Regions from separate parts of the Homo sapiens genome. Here regions 2, 3, 4, 5, 6 and 7 are each linked to region 1. The links are contacts of gene promoters, found by promoter capture Hi-C in blood cells and fetal thymus (Javierre and others, 2016). All regions are on one chromosome and are shown on one strand. Each heading gives the region's core, a stretch centred on a gene start or on the middle of the fragment in contact. The rest is flanking DNA. Distances are from core to core; before and after follow the strand shown. Region 1 holds the start of SLIT1 (slit guidance ligand 1). Region 2 overlaps TLL2 (tolloid like 2). Region 3 overlaps TLL2 (tolloid like 2). Region 4 overlaps TLL2 (tolloid like 2). Region 5 overlaps TLL2 (tolloid like 2). Region 6 overlaps TLL2 (tolloid like 2). Region 7 overlaps TLL2 (tolloid like 2).

What was found. Contacts are between HindIII fragments. The CHiCAGO score rates a contact against its expected background, and 5 or more counts as called.
Region 2: a fragment that was not itself captured here is called in contact with the fragment with the promoter of SLIT1 in region 1 in 2 of 17 cell types (naive B cells and total B cells); the score reaches 7.0 in naive B cells.
Region 3: a fragment that was not itself captured here is called in contact with the fragment with the promoter of SLIT1 in region 1 in 2 of 17 cell types (naive B cells and total B cells); the score reaches 6.3 in naive B cells.
Region 4: a contact is called between a fragment that was not itself captured here and the fragment with the promoter of SLIT1 in region 1, in 2 of 17 cell types (naive B cells and total B cells). The highest score is 11.0, in naive B cells.
Region 5: a contact is called between a fragment that was not itself captured here and the fragment with the promoter of SLIT1 in region 1, in 2 of 17 cell types (naive B cells and total B cells). The highest score is 6.1, in naive B cells.
Region 6: a contact is called between a fragment that was not itself captured here and the fragment with the promoter of SLIT1 in region 1, in 1 of 17 cell types (total B cells). The highest score is 7.0, in total B cells.
Region 7: a contact is called between a fragment that was not itself captured here and the fragment with the promoter of SLIT1 in region 1, in 1 of 17 cell types (erythroblasts). The highest score is 5.0, in erythroblasts.

The regions. Positions count from the first base shown.
Region 1 is chr10:97,183,882-97,187,284 of GRCh38, forward strand. It overlaps SLIT1 (slit guidance ligand 1), which reads right to left and starts at 2,078. Exons shown (of 37, transcript NM_003061.3): 1 at 1,597-2,078. The coding sequence starts at 1,793. All of the region lies in intron 11 of ARHGAP19-SLIT1 (ARHGAP19-SLIT1 readthrough (NMD candidate)), which reads right to left. RefSeq lists enhancers at 1,922-2,422, 2,423-2,923. The HindIII fragment of the contact is 4,998 bases long and covers 1-3,403 here.
Region 2 is chr10:96,428,556-96,431,650 of GRCh38, forward strand. It overlaps TLL2 (tolloid like 2), which reads right to left. Exons shown (of 21, transcript NM_012465.4): 5 at 76-193. Among named protein-coding and RNA genes, the nearest start is that of OPALIN, 71 kb to the left of the region's middle. The HindIII fragment of the contact is 976 bases long and covers 821-1,796 here.
Region 3 is chr10:96,482,803-96,486,187 of GRCh38, forward strand. All of the region lies in intron 1 of TLL2 (tolloid like 2), which reads right to left. Among named protein-coding and RNA genes, the nearest start is that of TLL2, 29 kb to the right of the region's middle. The HindIII fragment of the contact is 2,724 bases long and covers 152-2,875 here.
Region 4 is chr10:96,388,297-96,391,699 of GRCh38, forward strand. All of the region lies in intron 13 of TLL2 (tolloid like 2), which reads right to left. Among named protein-coding and RNA genes, the nearest start is that of OPALIN, 31 kb to the left of the region's middle. The HindIII fragment of the contact is 7,459 bases long and covers 1-3,403 here.
Region 5 is chr10:96,459,168-96,462,560 of GRCh38, forward strand. The region is part of intron 2 of TLL2 (tolloid like 2); the gene reads right to left. Among named protein-coding and RNA genes, the nearest start is that of TLL2, 53 kb to the right of the region's middle. The HindIII fragment of the contact is 1,785 bases long and covers 827-2,611 here.
Region 6 is chr10:96,369,303-96,372,362 of GRCh38, forward strand. TLL2 (tolloid like 2) reads right to left here. Exons shown (of 21, transcript NM_012465.4): 20 at 763-1,013. Among named protein-coding and RNA genes, the nearest start is that of OPALIN, 12 kb to the left of the region's middle. The HindIII fragment of the contact is 3,669 bases long and covers 1-3,060 here.
Region 7 is chr10:96,406,058-96,408,999 of GRCh38, forward strand. The region is part of intron 9 of TLL2 (tolloid like 2); the gene reads right to left. Among named protein-coding and RNA genes, the nearest start is that of OPALIN, 49 kb to the left of the region's middle. The HindIII fragment of the contact is 1,140 bases long and covers 777-1,916 here.

The sequences.
Region 1 (3,403 bases), core at 828-3,327:
GGACAGATTTCTGACCCTCAGATCCTCTCTGGGTCCACACAGGATAATGCACACGCTGCCCACAGAAACTCAGTTTGGTACCACCTCTCCCCAGCCCTGTAACACACAAGCATTCACACACACACATACACATGCACCACACACACACACACACACACACACACACACACACACACACTTCCCATCTAGATTGCATCTAGATTGCAAATTCTCTAAAACCTCCACGGGAATTTTTCAGATGCAGCCAAGAAGAGTCTGGGGCAAATGTGTGCTCACTAATTGCTGGCCTTGGTACAGAGTCTGATTCGGGAGACAGCTCTCCTCAGGGTCAGATTTCTGTCTCTGACCAGCTGGGGGCCATGAAAATGTGCTCGAAAGTTATCAAAATATGCACACCTTTCCTGAGAGCCACTGCAGTCACCGAGGAGTGTGGGAAGGAGGAGTAGGTAGGTTTCAAAGGAGCCAGCAGCCTTCTCCAAAGCCCTGTTCAAAAATCTCCTGGTGTAGTCACCTCTGCGAGCAGTACAAAGGCCCTGCATGTGACCAAAATCTACACACACACAGCCCATTACGGGGACTCTCATGGCCTCACGCTATTAAGGTGGCCCCTTAATACTAGGAATTCACACAGAAACACATTCTGCAGGAGAGTCACAGAAAACAAAGTATAAAGGTCTGTAAATACACACACTCAAACACACCCAAACACACACACACACATTCTACTAGCTTACTGGGTCTAGAAAAGAAAAGGATCAAGTTTCCTCAAGAATTCACAAGTGAGACAGAACAGGGGAAGAGAAATGCTATTTTTTTATTACTTGTCATGGTCAATATCTTTAACCTTGGGCCCCCCTCTCCAAGCTCCTGACTTCTTGGCATTATCCACCGGGTTCTCCATCCAAGACACACCTGCCCCTTTTCGGGTGCTGAATGTTACATACCCCAAGCCCCATACCCAAAGCCCTCAGGTCCCATTGTCTGCCTGTGTTGGGGATGGCTGGGTGTGGAGGGAGGCGGGTGAGTAGGGGACCAACGCGTGGCACCTGCAGGGGAAGAATTCTCAAGGCTCTGGGGCAAACAATGGAGAAGAAGGGGCAGACCAGAAACTTCGCCTCCATCCCACCCTGCTGCCCTTCGTCAGGAGCAAGCTCTGGGAGCGGGAATCTGCGCAGCTGGCTCAGAACGCGGCCGTAGCCCCATGTGCCCAAAAGGAGACATTGTGCTTGGCGAGTGTGGGAAGTGTCCCTCCTGGGTGCAAGGAAGGCTTTCTGACACCAGTTCGCAGGCACCCTGGAGGAATAAAGCGCTGGCGCAGTGAGGAGGGCCTGAGGGTGCGGAGTGCAGGGTGCAGGGTGCAGGTGTGAGGACGGAAGCTGACAACCCCGCCGAGGGCCCTTTGAATCCCAGGGATGGGGAAACCACGGCGCTCCTGGCTCCTGGCTCGGGAAAGACCCCGGCAGGCACTGACCCGTCTGTGGGCTGCGGAGCCCGGACGGGCCCCAATGGTCCTGCCCCCACCCCCAAGTCCGGAATTGCGTCTGGGTGGGAGGGCAACCTCGGAGCCAGGGAGCCAGGGGCGGGGACCATACTCACAGGCGCTCGGTGTTCCGAGGTATATTCTTGGGAATGGCCTGCAGCCCCGTGCCGTGGCAGTCCACCGTGGTTCCGGTGCAGGTGCAGAGGGCGGGGCACGCCGAGGCACCCAGGCGCCACGCGGCTGCCCACAGCAGCAGCCAGAGCTCCGGCCGGACCGGCCCCGCCGAGGACCCCCACCCGGGAGTCAGCGCCATGGTGCCCTCACAGCGTCCCGCTCGCGAGCCAGACGGCAGCAGCCGCTGACCATCCCCGTCCGGGGCCGCCTCCAGGTGCAGTCCCGGGGCAGAGCCACCGAAGAGCCCGCGGGCTTGCGCGCGGCGCCCCTGCGGGCTGGGAGGCACCTTGCTCCTCCAAGCGACGGCGCCTGTGCGCGGACGGAGGGAGGGCGCCTTGGGCGGAGGGGGCTCGGCTCCTCTGCCGTTTCGCCGCCTGCGTCTCCCTCTCCCTCCCTCCAGCTCCCAACTGACTGCTGCGAGGAGGAAAATGGGCAGGCCCCGCGCGCGCACGCACCCTGCGCACACACCACACACACACACACGATCACACACACACCCGCGCGCTCGCTCCCACCCGGCAGTCATCCATCAATCGAAAAGCACACATCCAGGGCCAGGCTCCTCCCCGCCCTCCCCCGCCGCAGCCCCCCTCTCCCGACGACCACTCAGCGGCTGCAAGCCGCCTACAGTTTCAAAGGTGGAACCTCCGAGGCGCCGTCAGCGGGCACGGGGCTGCGGGGGATGGGAGAAGAGGGAAGGGGGTGTGACTCGACCCGCCAAGTCCTGGCTGTACACACACACACACACACACACACACACACACACACACACACACGGCGAGGATGCGCACATTTAGACGCACGCACCCCGGCACCCGCGGCCCCAGCTGCTAGTCCAGGGTGGGAGGGAGATCTTATTTTGCCGCTTGGACGCCTTCCCGGGGAGTCAGACCCGTTTCCCCCCATCCCCCGACGGCAGCAGCGGCCTCTCGGCCCCACCCGACTCGCTGTGTCAATTCTTGGTTAAGGGAAACCCTGTGCCTGTGCCCCAGGTAGCATCCTCAAGCCACCAACCTTACTTAGCCTGGACTTTGAGGATGGAGCTTTGTCGGGGGGGAGGGTCCACGAAAGCGCTAGGCGGAGTACAGTCTCCTTCCTACCTCAATGCACCCACTTCTCAGAGGGGAACAAGCTAGCCGCATGCCCAGGATGAGAATGGCTCTGATTGGAACACTTGCTCAGCAGGGCGTATTTGTACCATACAGTTACACGGGCTTCTTCCCCCGTTGTAGAAGAGAGGGACAGACATTAAGGGGACTTGGAAATCTGGCAAACGTCTTCCTCCACTCACACCAGCGTTCCTCCATTTCTGACAGGTGGAAACAGATGAAAATGAATATTCCATCTTGACATCAAAGGAGACAGAGAGGGCTGGCATAGCGCTGGGCGGCCTGCTTGGGAGAGAACCCCACAGGCCAGCCCCGTCAGACCCAGGCCTCACACCCGGCTGGGTAGGGACCTTCGTCACCGTAAGGCATGTGTGGACGTGGGTGTGAACGGGACATCCAGGTGGGGAGAGAATTCTCCTCAACCCCAGAAAAGACGAAAGATCTCCTCAACGCCAAGGACAGCTGTGGCTCGCTGGGGCAGTGTCCAGCAGTCGGGGCCTTGACGTGAGGCTGCTTGGCAAGAGGACACAGCTGGGTAGCCCGAGAAGCACCTCCCGTCTCAGGAGCGGCCTGGGTCCAGACACAGCATGGACGCATTTGGTGGGGAGAGTGTCGGGCAGGGTGGGGATAGGGGAGGTTG
Region 2 (3,095 bases), core at 59-2,558, 760 kb before region 1:
GTTTACAGAGAAAATTCAACACTCATGAGCCATCCGACTGATTCTGCAGAGGTGGCCTCGCTTTCGTTTACTTACCCACAGGTTCTGTAACTGAATACAATAAAGCTTTCCTCATCCGTCCTTTCTATGAAGGTCACACAGGTGTGCTTCTCCCAGTGTCTCATGGCCTGCTTAAAAATGGCCCTCTGGCTCCCTGAAACAACAGGGCAAGCACTCGACTTCAATGATGGGTCCATATTTTCTTTAGATGCTTTTTTTTTTCTTTCAAGACGGAGTTTTGCCTTTGTTGCCCAGGCTGGAGTGCAATAGTGCGATCTCGGCTCACTGCAACTTCTGCCTCCTGGGTTCAAGCGATTCTCCTGCCTCAGCCTCCCCAGTAGCTGAAATTATAGGCATGTGCCACCACGCCCGGCTAATTTTGTATTTTTAGTAGAGATGGGGTTTCTCCATGTTGGTCAGGCTAGTCTTGACTCCTGACCTCAGGTGATCCGCCAGCCTCAGCCTCCCAAAGTGCTGGGATTACATGCATGAGCCACGGCACCCAGCCTCCTTAGATGCTTTAAAGCATGCTGAGTTAAGACAAAGGATGTTCCAACAATTAAAAAAAAAGATTGTTAATAATACTGTATTGTTTACTTGAAATTTGATAAAAGAACAGATTTTGTGTCCTCACCAGCCCCCAATGTAAGCATGGGTGGTGATGGATGTGCTAATTAATTTGATTATGGTGATCGAGACATAATATATCAAATCTTCATGTTGTATACCTTGAATATATACAATTTTTATTTGTCAATTAAATATTTTCAAAAAAAAAAAAAGCTTGTTCAGAATAGAAATACTCCAGGAATTTTCAGGAATCAGGATTTCCCTTGCTAAAAACACAACGTAACTTTTCTGAGCTGCCAAAACCTAGAGAGTAGGAGTTTGTGGATTGGAAGGGAGGGTAAAAATAGATTTTCAAAATATCCTGGGCTTCCCAAATTTTCCTTTGTATTGAAAGTATTTTCCAAACTTTTACAAAACCTTATCCAGGTTTTTCGATTTGGAAACTGCAGGCTTTTGAAGTAGGGGGGAGTCAACTCCAGCTCACCAGCACTGCACTTCGCCCCCTCATTTTCTTTTAGACCTGTAGGGGGGTGCTCCCATGCACTTTAAAATTTCTATTTGCATGTACATCTGTGTACTTTTGCACGGGGTTTCAGTGTCTTGTGGGGAATCCTTGAGCCTAATTTTTCTTCCAGGCCTTTGAAAATAGGTGAACTTCATACTTTCTCTGAACCTGTCTTGGTATTTCCTTGAGTGGAAATTTGCTGAATAATAAAACTCCAGGCTGACAGTTACGTATAGTCAGTCAGTTCTTTTCAAAATCTAGAAGGAAGACTGTTTAAATTTTCCTAGAAGCAATGAGAAGGATCTAGGAAAAAATAGTTGTCTGGGAAGTATGAAGGATGGTGGGAGTTGGAGGTCTGAGTTCTACAGGGCCCTCATTGCAAAACAAAAACAAAAATTACAAGCAAAACAAAACAGCTGACATCACTTGGATGTTTGTCCCCTTCAGATCTCGTTTTGAAACATAATCCCAGTGTTGGAGGTGGGCCTGGTGGGAGGTGTTTGGGTCATGGGGATGGGTCCCTCAAGAAGGGCTTAGTGCCATCCCCTTGGTGAATGAGCTCTCGCTCTGAGTTCATGAGAGATTTGGTTGTTTAAAAGTGTGTGGTACCTACCCCACCTCTCTCTTGCTCCCTCCCACCATGTGATGTTCTGGCTTCCTGTTGCCTTCCGCCATGATTGCAAGCTTCCTGAGGCCTCACCAGGAGCAGATATGCTGCCACCATGCTTCTCAGACAGCCTACAGAGCCGTGAGCCAAAACAAACTTCTTTTCCTTAGAAACTACCCAGCCTCAGGTATTCCTTTAGAGCAACACAAATGGACTAGCACAACAGCACTGGGGGAGGCTCCCATCATTGTCTGCAGGATGTGGGGATGGTATCATATTGTTGTCCCCAAAAACATTCATATAGAATAAAGAATAACAGCTGGGCATGGTGATTCATGTCTGTAATCCCAGCACTTTGGAAGGCCAAGGCAGGTGGATCCCTTAAGCTCAGGAGTTTGAGACCAGCCTGGGCAACATGGTGAAACCCTGTCTCTACAAACACTTAAGAAGAAAAAATTAGCTGGGCTTGGTGGCACACGCCTGTAGTCTCAGCTACTCAGGAGGCTGAAGTGGGAGGATCGCTTGAGCCTGGAAGGTTGAGGCTGCAGTGAGACGTGATCATGCCACTGCACTGCAGCCTGGGCAACAGAGTAAGACCCTGTCTCAAAAAAATAAAAGAAAGAAAGAAGAAACAAACAACAACAACAAAAAATAGAATAACTTAACTGTCCATTTTTTTTCTGACATCTTGACATTTTTTGTTCAAATTGTTTATAGCTCAATCGCTCACCAAAAATAGCAACCCTACTAATTATCTAATAACATGAAATACTTGTGTCAACAAAATTCCTATATATAAAATTAGTTAACTTTGATGAAAGTAATATAAATCTTTGGTCAGAAAAGCACACCAGATCTGAAAGAACACAGTTAGGATACCAAGGAACAAAAGTCTGTAGTGGTTTATAATTTCTATTTTTTTTCTTTAGGCACTCACCTTTCTCTGCTGTGAGAACAGACCTCCTTGAAGGCAGGATGAAATCTTAGTCATCTTTTTTACCACCAATCCCTAATTAAGCACCTGGCACTAGGAAGCCGTGGGTTAATGCTGCGGGAGCGAAAGGGAACTGCAGGAATTCCGCTGCCCTGCTGCTGAGGTCTTCACCGTTCCCTAACTTACTCATCAGCGATTCTCAGTGGCTTTGGCAAATCCTCAGGGAATCTGCCTTCATCAGCCACCTCTCAGAGTAGAGGTCACAGAGCCACAGGGAGGGGAAGGACTTATAAGTTGCACTGAGAGCCCAGGAAAGTCTCTCGGTATGGCTTGTCACTCAGGCTTTCCATTGACATTGGCCGCAGGTACGCAGTGGGCATATTTGCTACCTGCCTAGGATGTGCCGCGCCCTGCTCTAGGTGTTGGAGATACGGAAGCAG
Region 3 (3,385 bases), core at 264-2,763, 700 kb before region 1:
ACACAGCATGTAAATTATACTCAAGATGTCTGTTAAAGAAAAAAAATTCAACCTTGTAGCAAGAACCAACCAAGATGGTACCTGGTAAATCCTTTCAGTTGAGAAAGAATTGTTCAGATAAAGAAAACTAAGAATGTGTTTCTCTCGCAGAAGCTTCATAAGTGCAAGGTAGCAATAATTAAGTCTGGAGAGAGATAGACATGTTTAGAAAATAACTGTATGTGGCTATGGCACACACAGCTGAACCAAACAGATAAGAAGATGATTAATGTTGTAGAAAAGCGTAGGACCAAAAAAAGTCATTAGCATGGCCTATAAGAGGCTGCTAATGTTTGACACTTAAAATGACACAAAATGACCCTTGGGCCTCCATCCTTGTATGGGAAAGAAACAGGCTGAAAAAGCTGCCCCCATGAAGGGCATATTCTCTGATGCCCTCTCCAGATGTGGCTAAGAATAAGGGAAAAGGAAGGGCAGGACCTCCCAGAGTGTGGAGCTCAAAGCCACACAGGGAAAATGAATGGAGAGCTACTGGCAGGAGGTGGCATCAGGGCCTCATGAAGGAACGTTCCCCATCCTAGGCGCCTCTTGCAACATGTGTCCAGCCTGATTTCAGAACTGTTATGGATCAGTGACTGTTGTGCCTCCCAGTCTTCCTCTTTCCAAATGGAAGTGTTTGTTATGGTTATCCTGTCCCTTATCTATCATGGTATATTGAGTATGTATTTTGGTGGTGGGGTGGGGAAGTATATGATTGTTTTAAAGTTCACTAGTCTTTGGATGAAGAGGAGTCACATCCTGACTTAGTATAGAGATGATCACAAGATCTTGGACTTGGAGCCTGGTACCATGACTGGACAGGACTTTGGGGAAAGGTAAGTATGTTGTATATACGGGAGGAGAAGGAAAGCAAGTATTTGTTACAAGAGGGGAGGAGGCCTGTGACAGAGTCTATTATTGTTCATCATTTTTGCTGCTTCTCCTGGGTACAAATTATACTTCCCCCTCTCTCAGATGTCAGGCTTCACCATGTGATTTATTTTATTTATTTATTCTTTGAGATGGAGTCTCTCTCTGTTGCCCAGGCTGGAGTGCAGTGGCACGATCTCAGCTCACTGTAATCTCTGCCTCCCAGATTCAAGCGATTCTCGTTCCTCTACCTCCCATGTAGCTGGGATTACAGGCATGCGCCACCATGCTGGCTAATATTTTTGTATTTTTAGTAGAGATGGGGTTTCACCATGTTGGCCAGGCTGGTCTGTAACTCCTGACCTCAAGTCATCCTCCTGCCTCGGCCTCCCAAAGTGCTGGGATTATAGGCATGAGCCACTTCGCCTGGCCCACCATGATTTTTTTCTGGCTAATGAAAGTGAGGGGAAGTGACATGTGTCACTTCCAAGCAGAACCTGTAAGACCCAGCACATGGTTTGCCATGTTCTCTTTTCCCAAAGCCATAAGACAAAGGATATTCCGGAAACAGCCCGCTCTATCAGGCTGAGACATAGAGTGAAGATGATATGATCCAGGCTGAACATGTAACATGAGACAAAAACTTCTGTGGTTATAAAGCATGGATACTTAAGGATTATTTATTCCTGTATCATAATCTAGATTATAATGATTGACACATACAGCCTTTGCAAAATGATCTGTATTCATATTCTGGCTTTGGCAACCTCGCACATATTACTCAACCTCACTGAGCCACAAATGATTCATCTATAGAGATAATATTGCCTATTCTGGAAACCTGTTGAGAAAATTAAATGAGATCATGTACACATAAGTACACACACACACACACACACACACACACACACACACACACCATGGCTTTCTTTTTTTTCTTCAATAGATATAATCTTTCTTCAGTAGATGCAATCTATTGAAGGAAGAAAAATAAAATTTATGGAGCAATGAAGAACCAAGCCCTGTACTCGACACATAGATGCTTTCCCTGCAGAGATCAAATATAATTTGAAATTTGAAACCCAAGTAATCCATCCAAGCTGTCCATATTACAAAATCTATAAACTGCCTCATGCTTCTCCCTGTTCTTGGCACATAGTAGGCGATTTCCCCACAGAGGTCAAATATAGCTTTCGAAACTTTGAAACCCATGTCATCCATCCACGCTGTCCATATTGTGAAATCTATGAATTGAGACTCATGCTCCTCACAGCATTCATTTTTATATTTCTAGGTCGGAGTTTCCCAGATCTCCATCTCCCTTTTTTATTTAGCCACAAGCCACCAGAGGCTTTTAAAAGAAACAAATGTGCAAAAGAATAAAGTTGAATTCCTACTTCAAGCCATATACAAAATTTAACTCCAAGTGAATCAATGACCTAAATGTAGGAGCTAAAACCAAAAAACTATTAGGAGGAAACATCAGCATAAATCTTCATTATCTTGATTTGGCAATGGCGTAGATATAACATCAAAAGCATGAGCAACAAAAGAAAAAATAAATAAATTAGATTTAATCAAATTTATAAATTTTTGTGCATTGTGACATTATCAGAAAAGGAGGACATTATCAAGAAAGTGAAAAGACAAATTACAGAATGGGAGAAAATTTGTGCAAGTCATATATCTTATAAGAGCCTAGAATCCAGAATATAAAATGAACTCTTACAATTCAACAACAAAAAGGCAACCCAATTAAAACTAAGCAAAGGATTTGAAAAAACACATCTGTAAGGAAAAGATATAAATGGCCAACACATGAAAAGATGCTCAAAAGCATCAGTCATTAGGGAAATGCAAATCAAAACCACAATGAAGTACCACTTCACAGCCATTTGGATGGCTAGAATAAAAAATTAGAAAATAAAAAGTGTTGACTGAATACAATAACTGTCTCTCAATTTAAAGCTTTTCTTGGGGACCCAAACTTTGTACAAGGAAGTCTATCTGACAATTCCTTGAAATCTGACTGTCATCTAGAACTCCCTTGAAATGTGTGACAAGGTTGGTTTGGTCAAAGATGGTTTCCGGCTGCCTGCGCTGAGCCCTTCGGTTTCCCACTTCCCTGAAGATTTGGCACAAGACAGTCCACGGTGCAGCGCCATTTTTCCCCCAAAGAAAAAGTGTCCGATGTCAATTATGGCAATGGCAATGGCAGGCAATCAGGAATACTTCTCAAACATTCTAAGAGAAGAAAGAGAGAAGCAGGGGGTGGGAGAAGGGAACAGATGAACGGGCACTGGGAAAACCACCCAAGCCAAGGAAGTTACATAGTGGTCTTCCAACTTCTGTGCTCACATGTTCCTGAATCATTTTGAAAAGCTACATATCCCTTTGTTAGCCTGACACTTCAGATTTTTCACGATAAGTTTAAATACTTATTTTGCTCATGAAAAGAAAATAATAAGTATTTTAT
Region 4 (3,403 bases), core at 724-3,223, 800 kb before region 1:
AAGCTGAGGCAGGAGAATCGCTTGCACCTGGGAGGTGGAGGTTGCAGTGAGCTGAGATTGCGCCACTGCACTCCAGCCTGGGCAACGGAGCAAGACTCTGTCTCAACAACAACAAAAAAAGTTGTTCACCAAATCTTGAAATAACTCTTTACACACAAACTAAAAGAAATTAAGAACATCTATGAGTTGGTAAAGACCTGGAAAGTTACCCAGTCATGCCCTCTCAGGCAGGAATCCTTTCAGTAACGTTCTGGAGAGATGGCTCTTCAGACCCTACTTGAAAACTCCCAGAGACAGGACTCTCACTACTTTTCAAAGGTATTTATTGGGTCAAAAGTCTGACTCCTTACAACTTCCAGTCCACTGGTCCTCAGAAAACACAAACCCTCCAATCATCCAGCTTCCCTCTACCCTGCCCTTTTCCAACTCAAATATACCCCTTTCCTTCCAGTCGTCCTTGTCTGTGATGCACAGACTCCTCATCAACCTGGTTGCATTTCACTCGGTAAAGGAGGGTTTGTAAATATCCCATCATTTCACATAGGGGACAGTGAACTTGGGTAACTCTAATGGTGATGTACTCTTGGGCTCAATAAAAACTTATATAAATTAATTGCTTATTAGGGGAGATTGCGTTTAGAGAGACAATCCAGGCAGGGAGCTGAAGTTGCCCATCGCCTCAAATAAATGTAAGTAATAAGTATGCTAAAATAGTAACAAGTGTGCAGTTACTTTTTTTATCACCTTACCAAATTGAAAGTATTTTCTTAGACATTTGCTAAAAAGCATAGAAAGAAGAAAATAGTTGATAAAAAGTAGCGGAAAGAGTCCAGGCTTTAAAGTGAGTCAGACCTGGGGTGGATCCTCCAGCCGATCTTCCTCCAATAAATTGGGTGACTGCTTGTGATTTAGCCTCACTGAGCCTCCCTCCTGCTTTAAAGTGAGAATGATAATATTTACTTTTAGGGTTGTGACGACTGAAAACGATGCATGTGAAGTACCCGGCATACAGACCATCGGCACACAGAAGCCATCATGATAGACAGCAGCAGAGTTGCTTTCAAATTTCCAGTGAGTAGAGAGGCACAATGATGGGGCAGTGAAAAGATAAGGTTCCCTGGGCATACCTGGACCAGGTGGGAGTGGAGCAGTGCAGGCCTGAGGAGGGAAGGGAGACAAGGCAAGAACAGAAAGAAGGAAAATGCTTCAAGGATGGGCCAGTGGAGGAAGATGGACGGGCAGGAGGGCAGCACAGCAGAAGAACTCAAGACACTGGCTGGGGGACCTAGGGAAGAGGCAGAAGGAAACCAAGGAAAGAGCCCATTGGGAGAGACAGATAGACAAAGGACCAAGGCTGGGGTCTGCAGGAGACTCTGATACCAGAAGATGCTGTGGCTGTAGGCAGGACACACAGGCAAGAAAGAGGTGCACAGAGGAGCAAGTCTCTTGGCACCATCTTAGCCAGGTGAAGGGAGAGAGCCCGGTGGATGGACCTAGGGCAAAAGCAAAGAAAATATAATTCCTCCAGAGACTAGAAGGTAAGGTGCTCGGCCTTGGGAGGTAGATGAAAGGCATGCTTTTACACCTGAGCTCTCTCTAGCAAGAGCCGTGAGATGTTTGGCCAGTTACAGCCCTGCTTCAGCTTGGCTAGATGGCACAGAGGTGCATGGGGCCTCCCACTGTGGTAAAGCAGCACCTGCTCCAAGCCCACTGGCTCGTGCTTGCTCTGGGCTGCAGAGGCCAAGGCCAAGGCCAAGCCTCCCAGAAAAATCTGGGAGAGCGTGGCAGTAGAAGAGACTGGAAGCAGCATTCAGCTTAGCATAGCAGGAGCTCTGGAGTCTTCTCATGGTCCAGGTGGAATTAGCGAAAGAAGGAAGTAGTTAGATGATGAGACGGCTCAGGCAGGATCCCAAAAATTGTTCAGAGAAAGTTAAGGAAAGGGAAGGCAGGGCATATTCTTAGGCTTTTGAAGAAATCCCTTGAGGGAAGCCAGTCCCCCTACCAAGCCCTTCATGGTGACCTATCAGCACTGGGATAGGGGGATGGAGGGATCAAGGTGGGAAATCTTTAATTCTTTATGTGGGGGGCATAGGACCAAAATGGCCCTGCCAGCCCTTGAGTGCTGCTGCCTTCTCCCAAAGTAACCAGAATTGTTAAGGTTCTCTGCTTGCTGCCAGCCAGTATGCTCTGAGAAGGCTGCCATCTGGCACCAGAATCAGGTACAGAGGCCAACTGGCACCCTGGCCAGGATCAGGCGCCAGCTGGGCCCTGGGCAGAGCACCTGCCAATTGGCACCAAGGCAAGAGCTTCTTTGGCTTGCTCCAGCTCTTCTGCTGGGCCTTTGAGCTCCTCTTCCAGCTTCTTTCACTGGAGAAGTTCTGACACACGTGCTAGGTACGTTGTGTTCACAGAGCATCTGAATGATGGCCTTGTTGGGAAAAGGCTGGGCTGGGGAAGCTGGCTGGGTACAGTCTCCTGACCTGCGCTGTCTGATACGGCAGCCCCCAGCCACATGTGGCTACTGAGCACCTGAAACGCAGTTGGTCCAAGTGGCGATGTGCCATGAGTATAAAACACATGCTGGATTTCCAAGACTTAGTGTGAAAAACATAAGATCTCTCACTAATATTGTGTATATTGATTACATATTAAAATGATATTATTTTGTACAATAAATAAAAATATCATTGAAATCAATGTCACTGGTTTCTCCTTTTTTGTAAGGCAGCTGCCAGCAAATTCAAGGTCACCTATGTGGCTTCTGGTTGTGCCTCACATCCCATTTCTGTTGGACAGTGTTGCACGAGGCTGTGGTCGCTCACCCACTCTTCTTCCAGAGAGTCTTGCAAGGGAGGCAGAGCAGGCAGCAGGATGCCCACTCCACCAGCAGGGAAACTGAGCCCCATTCATTCATTGATCTATCCATTCTTTCATTGCTCACTAGGTATTTACTGAGCCTACTGTGTGCCAAGCACTGGGACCACAGTGAGGAGCAAAGCAGGTATGGGCCGGTCGTAGGAAGGAAAGCTGATCTGCAAGAGAGCGAATAGCTAGTAGGGAACATGGGACCAGCACCTCAAACTCCACTTGCCACGTCCAGAGCCCTTTTGCCTATACCTCTGTGGTATCGGGAAGGTAGAAAGGTGACCAGTGTCAGAATCAAATCACAAACACTAAGGAAAAATTCCACCCCCTTCACGTTCCTTCCCTGTGGCTTTCAGGTCTCCTTAGTGGAAACAGAGCGGATTGTGGAATCCTACAGATCCAGGTTCTAGTTCCAGCCCAGCCATGTTAGGAATTCAGCTTCCTCAACTGGAAAACGGGGGCAATAATAATTCCTACCAGGGGATTGTAATGAAGAAAAGTGAGATAACCTAGATCCTGGCACGTGGCCAGCATTCAG
Region 5 (3,393 bases), core at 469-2,968, 730 kb before region 1:
TAATGCAATCATGACCTAAATTCTAAGAGGATTTTGCTGGAATCCTCTCATGTTTTTGTAGAAAATGTTCCTCAAATTCATCAAGAAGAATAAATGAGTGAAACTCTTCAAGAAGTTTCAAAAAATCAAGAGCAAGGGCAATGAAGAAGGATGTACCCACCAAATATTAAAACATATAAGGCCGGATGCAGTTGCTCACACCTGTAATCCCAGAACTTAGGGAGGTTGAGGCAGGCAGATCACGCTCACACCTGTAATCCCAGAACTTTGGGAGGTTGAGGCAGGCAGATCACTTGAGATCAGGAGTTTGAGACCAGTCTGGCCAACATGGTGAAACCCCGTCTCCACTGAAAATACAAAAATCAGCCGGCACCCCTGTAATCCCAGCTACTCGGGAGGCTGAGGCAAAGAAGAATCACGTGAATCTGTGAGGCGGAGGTTGCAGTCAACCAAAATTGTGCCACTGCACTCCAGCCTGAGTGACAGAGCAAGATCCTGTTTCAAAAAAAAAAAAAAAAAAAAAAAAAAAAAAAAAAAAATATATATATATATATATATATATATAGCAGCTAAAATGAAAAGACACATGGATTGCTGGATATAAATGCTAACTCTATATATAAAAACACACTCTCTGATAGAGGAGACATCACAGACACAGGGAAAATATGAAATAGATGGTACTGAGATTATTATTTAGAACTGGGGGGTATCAGTCCTACCCCAAAATAAAACCCAAATGGATTGAAAGAAAGTATAAGAAAGAAATTTCAAGTACAAATAAACCATATGGAAAAACTCTACCAAAAAATAAATTATTTCCCAAAGCTTCAGTAAGAATAATTTTTTTTAAGTTTAGAAGTTTAAGAAAATTTGGTTTGACATATTTAACTTCAAAAGCCTTAAAAGTTTGTATAAAATTTCAAAACCTTTGTATGTGTTGAGTAATTCCCCAAAATGAAAACAAACCACTCATATAAGGGAAAATACCTGCATTGAAGATAATAAATGATTACTATCCATATTATATAATTTGCCCATGCAAATCAATGAGAAAAACTTTGTATCCAATAGACGTATGGAGAGGGGAAATTGGCAAACACTTCACAGAAGAAATTCTAATTTAGTAGATGCTATATATAGACTGAATGTTTTTGTGCCCCCTCAAAATTCATATGTTGAAATTGTAACCCTCCAATGTGATGGTATCTGGAGGTGGGACCTTTGAGAGGTCATGAGGGATCAGTCCTCATGAATGGGCTCATGCCTGATATGGTTTGGCTTTGTGTCCCTTCCCAAATCTCATGTCAAATTGTAATGTCCGGTGTTGGAGGAGGGGCCTGGTGGGGTGTGATTGGATCATGGGGGCAGACTTCCCCCTTGCTGTTCTCATGATAGTGAGTGAGTTCTCACAAGATCTGATTGTTTAAAAGTGTGTAGCATTTCCCCCTTCTTTCGCTCTCTCCTGCCACCATGTGAAGATGTGCCTGTTTTCTCTTCGCCTTCCTTGTAAGTTTCCTGAGGACTCCCCAGCCACACTTCCTGTACAGCCTGTGGAACTATGAGTCAATTAAACCTCTTTTCTTCATAAATCGCCCAGTCTCAGGTAGTTCCTTATAGCAATGTGAGAACAGACTAATACAATGCCCTTATAAAAGAGACCCCAGAGAACTCTCTCATCCCTTCTGCCATGTGAAAACACCACAAGAAGATACCATCTATGAACCAGGAAGCAGGCGCTACCCAGAAACTGAACCTGCCAGCACCTTGATCTTGGACTTCCCAGCCTCCAGAACTGTGAGAAATCAATTTCTGTCATTTATCAGCCACCTAGTCTATGACATTCTGTTACCGCAGCCCAAACCAACTAAGAGAGTAGATAATCATATAGAAGACGTTTAGCCTTGAGAAATGAAGATAAAAGCAAAAACAAGATACCACTTTCCAGCTATTAAATTAGCAAAATAAAAAATTTAATGGTATGGCTCAATCATGAAGAGTCTGGTGGAAGTGGACTTTTCATTGTGTGAGCAGTTTATTCAGCAAGTTTATTATGCATCTAAAATGTGCCCATCACAGGACTAGGCACTGGGAATGCACCAATACATAAGAATTCACATACCTCAGGCAGAGTCCATGGTCCAGTGTGGGAGAAAGAGGAAGCAATGTGGGCATCCGGAGGCTGCCCAGAGAAGGGTTGACTGATCTGGATGGAAAGGCAGGAGGGGAGTGGCAAAGATCTTCCACACATGGAGGTGCGGATGAGGGCAGCCTACAGAGGGGAGGCACAAGGCCTCAGCCCAAGCTCTGCCTGAATCTGATCCCAGCACGCCTTTCCAACTTCTCTCCCCAACTCCCAGGACTCACCCTCCTGCCAACCACCCTGGACTCTACACTTCCTGTGCTGCTCAGTTCTCACTGCCAAATTCTCACCTCCATGCCTTTGTTTAGCCTCTGCCTTCCACCTGCAATGACTCCCCTGCACTGCAACCCTGATGAAAATCCTTCAAGGCCCACCTCAATCTCTTCCATGAAGCCATCTCTGTCCTCTGTGCTTCTTTTACATCTCTTCCAAGGCCTTGTGCTCATGCATTAATTCCCTCATTTGACAAGCTTCCATAGGGCACCTCTCTGTGCCAGGCACCATCCCAGGTGCCAGAGAGACAAAAGCGAATCAGATACAGTCACCACCCCCAAGGAGCTCCTGACACTCACCATATCAGTCCCATAGTATAATTCTGTGTGACCCCATCTATCACCCCTATAAGACGCTCTACTCCTTAAGAACTGGAGCAACATCCTCTGCATCTCCACCCACACGGTGTTCACAGCAGACGCTTACAAAATATGTCCAGGTGAAGTGGACTGAATTGGATTGGCCAGTACTTGCATATATTATCTCAGTTAATTCTCACTGCATCTGTGTGGGCCATTATTATTGTGAGGTATTATTATCTGTAAGTTATTATTATTGTTATCCCCATTTTACAGATGAGGAGACTGAGGCTCAATGAGGTAAAGTCCTTGGCCTGTGGTCACTGTGGTGTTTAGCACAGCTGAGAGGGTCTGCCTCCCTGCCCAGCCCTTTGCCTCATTGTTCCTTCCCCTAGTGTTCTAACAGGAGCAGAGATGGAGGATGAAAACCTCCAGACAGTGCAGAATATTCAGTGAGGTACTTTTGTCCTGCAGAAATAAGACACTGTCAATTCTCATTACTTGAAGTAGTTATGTTCTCTAAAGTTGTTGTGAGTAAATATCAGTGGCTGATAAATGACAGAAATTGATTTCTTATAGTTCTGGAGGCTGGGAAGTCCAAGTTCACTAAACTAGTGAACACCTAACCATTGCTCCCAGGAGATCAATATACACTCTAGTATAAAGTACAGTACTGTC
Region 6 (3,060 bases), core at 384-2,883, 820 kb before region 1:
CAATAATGAGAACATTGATAATGACCTTGAGCACAACTATTGTGTGTATAGTAAGTGACTTGTAATTTTCAGAGCATTTGGTTTTGCTTGAGGAGAGAAATGTGAATATAAGAAATATATAAAAGCATAATTAAATATTTTTAAAGCCTGAAGGCCAAATAAAAATGGAGGAGAGTGGCTGCGCATGGTGGCTCACGCCTGTAGTCCCAGCACTTTGGAAGGACGAGGCAGGTGGATCACTTGAGGTCAGGAGTTCAAGACCAGCCTGACCAACATGGTGAAACCCCGTCTCTACTGAAAATACAAAAATTAGGTGGGTGTGGTGGCGCATGTCTGTAATCCCAGCTACTTGGGAGGCTGAGGCAGGAGAATCGCATGAACTCAGGAGGCAGAGGTTGCAGTGAGCCGAGATCCAGCCTGGGCGACAGAGCAAGACTCCGTCTCGGGGGAAAAAAAAGAAAAAAAAAAAAAAGGAGGGGAGAGGGAAAGCCTTTGCAAAAATAGGTGAAAGTCCCAAAAGGAAAAGTGCTCTTCCATGGCTGGCCTCAGTAAGGGGCCTTCAAGGACTGGTCCCTGGCTGCCTCCCAACCTCCTCTCCTGACGGTTCTCCTGCTTCCCACTCCGCTTCTGCAGAACGTGCCTCCTCGCCGTTGCTCCTAAGTGGAGTAGGTGGCCGGGACTGAAAGCCGGGCGTGTCTGACTCCACAACTCCTGCTGTGAATCATCACACTCTGCCCCGGCCCCAGCGTCTCCGGGACTTACCCCAGAGCCACAGAAGCGGCCGAGCCTGGGCGCTGAGCTGTCGTAGCCGTCGTAGGCTTCCATGTAGTCGTAGCCGCAGTCGGCCTCCTCCTCAACCTCAAAGGTCCGGAATGTCAGCTCCACGCCGTAGCCGTCCTCTGCCACGATCACCCAGTCACAGCGGGCCTCGCTCGGGTAGTTGTTGTCCCCAAACTGGGCGTGGGAATAGAGCTCTTTGGTCTGCACTTCAGCCTTCAGCCTGCCCCCGCACTCTGGAGCAGAGAGAAGTGAGATGTCCCCTCAGCACAAGACACCCTCGTGCCTCCCGCCTGCGTCTGCTCGGCTTTCTCTACAGAGCCTGGTGCGTGCCTGGCAGGAGAGGCCAGGTAGTCTCGTCACCCCATTTGATGGAGGAGTACACAGAGGCCCCTGGCTCCCAGGTCAGGGCTCCCTCGGGGGTGCAAAGTGGCCCTCACAAGCCAAGGTCCCCTGTTCCCAGCTTGAGAATACGTGAGCATGCCATTGAAAAGAGTTGGCTGCTTTTTGTTTTTTCCGGTTATGGAGACATGGAGCCAATGGACGGTTCGCCTCACTGGTCGCTGGGATATGGGTGGATCTATTTGCCACTTTATTCCCTGGAAGTGTTGGATGCATCTGAGAAGGGCTCCCACTCGCCCCACCGACTGACTGCAATTTGTCATTTCTGCCGACAGAGGGCGATAAAAGCACATCGGAATCGCGGGTAAGCTCTCAACCCTGGAAACCTCAGACCCTAAATGACTGGTTTTTGCATTTGAGGGCATTGACTATAGGCCAACTTTGAGGTCCCTGTGGGTGTCACAGGTGAGCTGCACCTCAGGCTCTGGGCTGGTATTCTGTAGCCTTTGTTTCTGGGTTTTTTCATTATACAAGGACAGTAACTCTGGTTGGCCCTGGTCCCATATATAGTACCTTGTGTCTTGGACACTTAAGCCCACATAAAATAAAATGGATATTGGCCGGGCGCAGTGGCTCATGCCTGTAATCCCAACATTTTGGGAGGCCGAGACGGGTGGATCACTTGAGGTCAGGAGTTTGCGACCAGCCTGGCCAACATGGTGAAACCCTGTCTCTACTGAAAATACAAAATTAGCTAGGTGTGGTGGTGGGCGCCTGTAATCCTAGCTACTCGGGAGGCTGAGGCAGGAGCATCTCTTGAACCTGGGAGGCGGAGGTTGCAGTGAACTGAGATTGTGCCACGGCACTCCAGCCTGGGCCACAGAGCAAAACTCCGTATCAAAAAAAAAAAAAAAGTAAATAAATAAATAAAATAGATAGATAAGACTGGTCTAGATTAGCAAGCACCAGAAATTCTGGAAGCAAATTCTTGCACAGCCCCTCCCCAGTGTGCTCCATGCCCCCCGAGGGGCCCAGGCAAACGCTGTTGTAGATTCTGGGCCACCTGGCTCCTAACACTCCTAGGCCCCGCTGGAGCTCCACGCCCTGCCTGGCCCCGGTCCTGTCTGACTGACCATTCTGAGTCCTGTGTTGGCTCTGGCTTAGAATGTCTTACAGGTCTAACCTGTCTTTGGGAAATTTCAAATTCCTGAGAGCTGGGTGGTCATGAAATGAGCACAGAGCAGGGTGGGACGCCTCCCCTCCATCCGGCCGGACGCCCCCACCCTCCCCACCTGCCTGGGCCCCGTGAGACAGACCCCTGGCCTACATCGATGACCCCGTGCCTTCTGCTGCAGGTTCAGCCATGGGGAGCACCAGCAGATCAGAGGGAGGGAGGCGAGAGAAGCCAGGGTATTTAGTCCCCTGATTGCCACAGCTTTTCTTCCACTTAGGTCACAGCTGCAGCCAGAGGGTCTCTGCATGCAGTCCTCTCTGTCTCCAGCTTCCAGGAACTGCTCCCTCCTCTCATCCTCTGGGCCTGGAGTTGCAGTTCCTAGCTCTGGTGGCTTCATTGTCCTACAGTGTCCCATACTCTCCCACCCCTTTGTAACTTGTCCCTTTATTAACTTCTCTCAAATAATGACTCTGAATGTGCCCCCACTTCCTGCCGGGACCCTGAAGCACCTGTGTTCCTGCTGGTCTCTATCTGCAGGGACAAGAGGGCTTTTAAACTTCCCTGTAGGGAGCTAGAACTCCTCAGGGAGTTTGACAGGGTTCCACAAACCATGCAGCGTTTTCTGCTGTGCAAGAGGAGGCTGAACTGCCTCAGGATGCTGGTCGCCATTTTGTTTGACCTAATTTATATTTTCCGGTACTGAAAAAAAACTGGAGGTAGAGGCTGTTAAAAGGATCACAGGGTCCCATGATCGTGAGCTCAGACTC
Region 7 (2,942 bases), core at 97-2,596, 780 kb before region 1:
GACATCCCTGAGGTCAGGTAGTGGATGCTCCCATGGCCAAATAGGTGACTACTTAGTAGGGGGAAGGGGAGGGCTGGGTGGTCCCAGGGGCTGGGCCTCAGCACACAGGTGCTGTACCTGTGAACTGGCTCTGGTCCCCCTGCAGCCCACCAGCTCGGGGCTCCCCTGGCAGATGGCCCAGAGCAGAGTTCAGATTTCCCCTGGCCTTTCACCCCCACGCAAGTTCCACTAAACCAGGTGCCTGTGGCTCCTCCCACTGTCCTGAGGTGCAGTGGCTTGTCTGGCCCAGGCTCACCTTTCCTCATGCCCCACACACCTGCTCCATCACGTCTCCACTCTTCCTCATCTCCAGCCCTGACCCAGCCCCTGCACCCCTGACTCTATTCGTTTTCCAACCCCGGAGGACTTTGCTCTCAGCAGTTCCTCTCTCTCCAGCATCTCCACTCACTGCCCCTCCACTAGCCACTTCTTTATATTCAAACAGCCCCAGGGGCCCTCTAGCTCTAAGTAAACCCTTAGGCTGGAAGGCTTCCTCAAAGGTTCCCATTCCCTCCCCACCAAATCTAAAGGACTGTTATTTGGCCTTGTGCCCCATGACCCCTCTGCCCAGAGCTTATCCTTTCTGGTTTTCACCACACTGGCCTATCTTCTCCCCACTGCTCTTGCTCCTCTGCCCTTCCCGCTCCCTACTAGGTGAGAGCACCTCCAAACAAAGCATTTCCTTTCCAGCCTCCTCCACTGTAGGAGATGCCATTGCCCCGATGGTCAAGGAGCCAAGCTTTGGTATTATCTTTCCTTCATCCTTACTGTTGATCCCCCATATCTGTTCAGCATCCATGCTGCAGCTCTTTTTAAGATATCCGCATCCCTCCCCTCTAACCCCATCTCGCTCCTCCTGCCTCACCCCCTCCTGGATTGCTCCCACACGATTCCTGGACTCCTCCCTGCTGTGGCCCCATTTTTTCTACACACTGGGGCTTCTAGATCAATATTCCACTCATATCTCATGTTTACCAGACCCCTCCCAATCTTCCACCCATATATCATGTTGACCAAACCCCTCAGGAAACCTCAGTGGCTCTCTGTGCCCCCATCTCATGAATTAAATTCTGCTTACTTTCCACACCCCCAGAGCCTGTCCTGTGCAACCTGTTTCCCAGTGTTCCCTGACAGTCCCATGTCAGAGAAACCCTTCCCAGGCCTGCTCAAGTGTCCCCCTCCTCGAGCCTGTGTCTGATTGCCCTGATGAACACGATTGATCTTTGCCTCTTTGGAACGCCCCACCCTCTGTCTTATAATGATTCTAGAGCCGGTGTCTTTAGATCTACCTAGATCTGGATTTGCTTCTCAGCTCCATCTACTAGCTCTGGAGTCTTGGGGAAATACTTGCCCTCTAGTTTCCTCATCTGTAACACAATACACACATCACTGTGCTATTGAGGGGACTGTGCGAGAAACCATATATAGAGTGTATATTGCTATGCCTGGCACACCATAGGCACTCGATAAATAGCAACTTAAAATACCAGGTAGTCCACATTGAGTGTACACTTAGCATACCACAACTAACACTAACCACACCTCGCAAGCTGCCCATCTTGATTAGTGTTGAGTGCCCATCCCTTCCCTTGGGCCCATCCCACCCAATGTTTCGTCTCAGGACAAATCACATCTTCCACAAAGCCCTGCGATCTCCTAGGAAACGAAGTCAGTGCCAGGAAAAAACAGGTCAGCTCACCTTCTGTCATTGAGTGTGTGTGCGCGCACGCGTGGGTGCATGCATGTGTGAGCATGTGCATGCATGTGTGTGCGCACACGTGTGTGCGTGTGTGTGCATGTGTGTGCGCACGCTGTCACTCCTCTTTCAAACTAGACTGTGTTTTTCGACCCTACTTGCACATTAAAATCAACTTTGAAGCTTTGAAAAAGCTCATACCAAGCAAACACCCTTCCTTCCATTAAATCAGATTCCCTGGGAGTGGGGGGAGGGGGACCCAAAATAAACAGTCTTAAGACAGGGGTGTGCCTTAGATTTCTGTCCTATCCCACACCGTGCTCATATTCAGGTGGTAGAGCTTAGTAACACCTGTAAGCTGGTTGCACAATAATTCTTTAGCCTTTGCTTTTTTAAAATTACAGAAAGGAAATGTTAGTACAACTTCCTTGGTAACACATTCATGATCTGAATGAATGGGATAATTATTCAGGCTAATTATTTTAAGTACATTAGTGAACCATAAAGACCATAGGGGAAAGAGGTGGTGAACAAGAGGTGATACTCGAATCAATCAAGTTTGCTAATTACTTGCAGCTCTGGGGAAAGCTGGGTGAAGCAGAAATGGAAATAATTGGTGCAGAAATTTCAATGATGTATATTCTCTCTGTCCCCAGTTAGCACTAATAATTAAGGCTTGATGAAGTTTACACAGTTCAAACATATCACACACCCTCTGCTGTGCAGAGCAATTCAATAATTTAGAAATTACCAGACCTCTTCCTCTTCCCCCTTTCTGCCTCCCTCCTGTTAGCCTCCAGCAGGCACATGGATTTCACATCTACCCAAGGCAGACAGGTCTGGGATCTCAGATACAAGATGACAGCCATACTTAATGTCTTAAATGCTTAGAGCCAAAGGAAGGATGTATACATGTGTGCCCACACATGTGCATTCATGTATGTATATAAATGCACGTTAAAATGTCTATCTACTAGCCTGGCCCCTTTGTGTAATAATATAAGATGACAGTCAAGCATTCAGGCTGTCAGAGTCCAATTGCCTGGGTTCAAATCCCAACTCTGCAACAAACTTAGAAGCCTTGGGCAAGTCCAATTCCTTACCTGTAAATAAGTATGGCAACAGCACCTATTTCACAAAGTTGATGAGAGGACTAAATTAGATGATCCACATGATATGCTAAGGATAGTATCCAGTCTACAGAAAA